2 separate regions of the Homo sapiens genome follow, and region 2 is linked to region 1. Evidence: promoter capture Hi-C in 16 types of primary human blood cells and fetal thymus (Javierre and others, 2016). All regions are on one chromosome and are shown on one strand. Each heading gives the region's core, a stretch centred on a gene start or on the middle of the fragment in contact. The rest is flanking DNA. Distances are from core to core; before and after follow the strand shown.

Region 1 (2,548 bases), core at 33-2,532:
GCAGTGAGGAAACAGGGAACAGAATAGCCTCCTGCCACCCAGCCCACCCCAACCCTTAGAAATGCCCTATGTGCTGGGGGCTAGGACCCCCGTAATCCAGGGCTGGAGGAATGTGCTCTGGCCCCGCAGGGCTGGCCCTGTATTAGGGCTGGCACTCAAAGTGGGGATGGGGGGACAGATTGCAGCTGGAATGGGTGCTCGGTCATGATGTAAATCCTGGGGAAGCCAGCTCTCCTGGGCCTGGTCTCAGCAGCCCCTCAGGGCCCTGCAGCTTCCCTGGTGACATTCTCTCCCAGCCTCTGTTCATCTGCCCCCTGCCTGGGCAGGAGACTTGAGCAGGGAAGTGCAGAGTCTTCTCCCTGTGAGAAGGCTGGATGCGTGTTTAAGGATAAATGAACACGCGAAGAGTAGTAACAACAGCCAAGATTTATAAATGCCTATTGTTATATATGTAGATACTTACTTAAGTATATATAAAGTACAGACTGCATTATGTATATTACATATCTTTAAATTTTTAGAATAGTCCTATGAGGTCAGTTCAGAGATCCAGACCCAGGTGGTCTGGCTCTAGAGTCTAAACAGGCCGAGTGCAGTGGCTCACACCTATAATCCCAGCACCTTGGGAGGCCAGAGGCGGGAAGATCACTTGAGGGTGGGAAGAACACGTGAGCTCAGGAGTTCGAGACCAGCCTGGACAACATGGCGAAACCCCATCTCTATAAAGAAATCAGCCTAGCATGGTGGCCCGAGCCTGTAGTCCCAGCTACTCGGGAGGCTGAGGTGGGAGGATCGCTTGAGCGCAGGAGTTGGAGGCTGCAGTGAGCTATGGGTGAAAGAGTGAGACCTTGTCTCAAAAAAAATTAAAAAATAAGAATTAAATATATTTAAAATAGAGTCTAAATAAGTGAATGATCTAGAATTCTCTTGGTTCCCCTAAAGCAGCTGTCAGCTTTGGGGGATGTTTTTCCAAATTAGTGCCTCACCCTCACGGGACAGGGAAGCCTGTGGGAGCTGGGAGGGCAGGTGGAGGCCGGGCAGGTGGAGGCCGGGCAGGTGGAGATGGTGATTCGAAGAGGAGGGGACGATAGGAGGAGGTTGAGGGGTCACCCGAGTGCTGGGAGTGACGCTGGAGGTATCGGCCCAGCGATGCTGGAGTGGTCGGGTCGGAGGCCCAGCAGCGTCTGGGGAGGGGCGTGGGGGAGGCGTGTCCAAGGCCGGCTGGCCCCGCCCCGCCCCGCCGCCTGGCCTCTGGCCCGCTGGGGCGCGGGCTTTCGCTTTCAGTCGAGGGCTAGCGAGCGCAGCGGAGCCTGGAGAGAAGGCGCTGGGCTGCGAGGGCGCGAGGGCGCGAGGGCAGGGGGCAACCGGACCCCGCCCGCACCCATGGCGCCCGTCGCCGTCTGGGCCGCGCTGGCCGTCGGACTGGAGCTCTGGGCTGCGGCGCACGCCTTGCCCGCCCAGGTGGGTGACTCGCGCGGCCCACGGGGGACAGCCGCCCCGCATGTCCACCCGGCTGGTGCGCAGCCTTCGGGTGCCCGGGCCGCGCTCTCCCGGGGCGCTGTCACGGGCTGGGAGGCTGGGAGTCCCAGTCGCCGCCCCCCATCCGCATCAGACACGCGCGCCTCTGGGGACCCGCTGGGGACTCCGGGCCCGGCACACGTGCGCTCGGGGCACAACTCTGGCCCCCGAAGCCCCTCTTACCCGCGTCGTGACAGGGGCGCACCCTGGTTCCTCCGCGAGCGCAGGCCGGGGCATTTGGGGCTGAGCAGCGGGTCCTGGGCAGACCCCCGCTAGACCCGGGACCCCTCTTCCCTCACCCCGGCGACTGCCGCGACAGCCCTTCCCTCCCACGCGGTGGAGAAGGGGCTGTGCCGGGGCGCTGCCCCACTGCCCACGCCGGGCACCCTCTTCAAAAGACTTCCTTTTCCTCTGGGCGACGGTTTTCCGATTTCTTAGAAATACCAGGGTCCTGTGTCTGAAGAGCAGGACCAGGTGTGTGTCAGGTCCACTGAGGGCACAGCTGGAGGGCGAGCTGCCTGTCTGCTTCCTCCGATGCGTCCGGGGGCTACTGCAGAGTCTGTTTTCTGCGGCCTCTGGGGACAGGGCAAGCGAGGGAGGTCTGGGCTGGTAATCGAGCAAGGCAAATGAAGTCTCCGGGGGCCGCAGGAAAATGGAGACAGCAGAAACCCTAGGGCTCCTATTCAATATGAACGTCACTCCCACAGTAGCAACGGGCGTACAAGGGACTGTGCACCCTTTGCCTGTTTTTGACTGTCTCCTGGTCTGGTAACATAGGATAACCCCATTTTTGTTTTACTGTCTCCATGGTTTGGTAAGATAAGATAAACCATTTTTTAGAGAAGGAAAACTGAGGCTCAGAGAACTTGTATTTCATGGAAGGGTCTGGGGGGAACTCTTCCTCCAAAGGGGGCCTCTCCTGCCTTCGGCCCCTGTGCCCTGAGGCTGCGGGGAAGGTGGGCGTTCATCCTTCCTCAGAGCCGCCCCTGATGGACACATGGCCCATCTGCCCCCATCTGACATCTTGACC
Region 2 (2,548 bases), core at 16-2,515, 350 kb before region 1:
GTCTTAAAAAAAATGATGCTGGGACATGGGTGATCCATATGGAAAAATAGTTATATTCCTATTTCATACTATAAATAAGATAAATTCCAGATGAAGATGTAAATATGCAGAACAAAACTTCGGGAGACTATATGTTGTCAAGAGTGGGGAATAATTTCTTAAAACTCCAGAAGGCACAGACTATAAGAAAAAACATCAATGGGGCCGGACACAGTGGCTCACGCCTGTAATCCCAGCATTTTGGGAGGCAGAGGCAGGCGGATCACAAGGTCAGGAGATTGAGACCATCCTGGCTAACACGGTGAAACCCCGTCTCTACTAAAAATACAAAAAAATTAGCTGGGCGTGGCGGTGTGCGCCTGTAGTCCCAGATGCTGGGGAGGCTGAGGCAGGAGAATGGCATGAACCTGGGAGGCGGAGCTTGCAGTAAGCCAAGATCACGCCACTGCACTCCAGCCTGGGTGACAGAGCAAGACTCCGTCTCAAAAACAAACAAACAAAAACATCAATGGCTGGGTGCAGTGGCTCATGCCTGTAATCTCAGGACTTTGGGAGGCCGAGGCAGGCAGATCACCTGAGGTCAGGAGTTCAAGGCCAGCCTGGCTAACATGACAAAACCCCATCTCTACTAAAAGTACAAAAAATTAGCTGGGCATGGTGGCGGGTGCCTGTAATCCCAGCTACTTGGAAGGCTGAGGTGGGAGAATCGCTTGAACCCGGGAGACAGAGGCTGCAGTGAGCCGAGATCGCGCCATTGCACTCCAGCCTGGGCAATGAGAGCAAAACTGTCTCAAAAAACAACAACAAAAAAAAAAAACAAACAAAATCAATAAATTTGACCACATCAAAGTACATATTGTATTTATAAAGACAAAAACTCCAAATAACAACAATAAAACACCATAAATAAAGTGAAAACAAGTCCACAGCCTGAGAGAGGTTATTTACTATGCATTTAAGAGGCAGATAATTAGTATCCAGAATACAGGAAGAGGCTGGGCGCGGTGGCTGACGCCTGTAATCCCAGCACTTTGGGAGGCCGAGGCAGGCGGATCACTTGAGGTCAGGAGTTCAAGACCAGCCTGGCCAACATGGTGAAACCCTGTCTCTACTAAAAATACAAATTGAGCTGAGTGTGGTGGTGTGCACCTTTAGTCCAGATACTTGGGAGGCAGAGGCAGGAGAATCACTTGAACCCAGGAGGCGGAGGTTGCAGTGAGCCGAGATTGCAACACTGTACTCCAGCCTGGGTGACAGAATGAGACTCTGATTCAGAACAAATAATACAGGAAGAACTCCTGCAACTCAATCAGAAAAACAACAGATGGTCCAATGGAAGGAAAACGAGCAAAGGATGTGAACTGGAATTCTCAAAAGAGAAAAACTGGCCAGTAAACCTCTAGAAAAAGGAAGGTGCACATTCCTGTGACTCATACATTCCTCTTAGAAATTTGAACCGTAGACATGTACAAAGGTGGTAATTATAGCTTTATGATAGCAAAAAGCTGGAGTCACCAAATGGGAGAATGGAAAAATTATGGTACATTCATATGGTATCATTTTAGACATCATGTCATTTCTGTAGATTGTAAAATAAAAATTTTAGACAAGTGAAAGTGAACGAACCACAGAGTTGTGTGTATCAACATGGCTAATTCTCAAAGACTTAATGTTGAGAAAAAAAGAGCAAGTTACAGAATATACAAGTGCCGTGTACAACAGTGTGGACACTTTTGAAATACACACAATAATTTCAGGTTAGTGGTTTCTCCCAGGGGAGAGAGGAAGGAAAACTGTTTTTTTTTTTGTTTTGTTTTGTTTCTTAAAATGGTACTGAATGTTTTCTTTTTTAAAAATACCTGGAGCATATATGGCATGTTGTTGAGATTTGTTAAAGCTACAGTTGTGAGGGTATGGGTATTCGTTACTTTTTGTAATGTTTGAAGTATTTCCTAATGTCAAAGGCATCTCAAACAATTTTTTCTTTTTTTTAAGAGATGAGGCCTCACACTGTTGCCTAGGCTGGAATGCAGTGGTGCAATGACAGCTCACTGCAGCCTCAGCCTCCCAGGCTCAAGCGATCCTCCCACCTCAGCTTCTTGAGTAGCTGGGACCATAGGCATATACCTTTTGTACTTTTTGTAGCGACATGGTCTCACTACATTGCCCAGGCTGGCCTCCAACTCTTAGGCTCAAGTGATCCTCCTGCCTCAGCCTCCCAAAGTGTTGGGATTACAGGCATGAGCCATTGCACCCAGTCATCTCAGGCAGTTTTTAAAAAATTTTTATATATAGAGAAAAAGTGCACTCAGCAGCCAGCATGATCCAAAGGAGAAGCAGCTGCACCCTCTCAAGTGATGACGGGGACACCCCTCGGCTGATGAACAAGTTTCCTTAACCCAGTTTCCGCAGCGGTGGAGGAGTGCAGCCAGAAAGGCTGCCTCGCTCTGTCTCTCCTTGAACTCCTGGGTTTTAACCTCACCTTTGTCTTCCTGGCAAGCCTCCTTGTTCTCATTGAGGTGAGGTGGTTTGGATTCACCTGCTCGCT

What was found. The method cuts DNA at HindIII sites, captures the fragments that hold promoters and counts their contacts. A CHiCAGO score of 5 or more calls a contact.
Region 2: a fragment that was not itself captured here is called in contact with the fragment with the promoter of TNFRSF1B in region 1 in 2 of 17 cell types (neutrophils and naive B cells); the score reaches 6.4 in neutrophils.

Annotation. Positions count from the first base shown.
Region 1 is chr1:12,165,709-12,168,256 of GRCh38, forward strand. TNFRSF1B (TNF receptor superfamily member 1B) reads left to right here and starts at 1,283. Exons shown (of 10, transcript NM_001066.3): 1 at 1,283-1,461. The coding sequence starts at 1,384. MIR7846 (microRNA 7846) reads left to right here and starts at 1,235; the gene lies at 1,235-1,330. RefSeq lists silencers at 1,119-1,428, 1,439-1,668 and an enhancer at 1,709-2,350. The HindIII fragment of the contact is 7,422 bases long and covers 1-2,548 here.
Region 2 is chr1:11,820,283-11,822,830 of GRCh38, forward strand. CLCN6 (chloride voltage-gated channel 6) reads left to right here. Exons shown (of 23, transcript NM_001286.5): 6 at 2,413-2,519. Among named protein-coding and RNA genes, the nearest start is that of CLCN6, 15 kb to the left of the region's middle. The HindIII fragment of the contact is 5,075 bases long and covers 1-2,548 here.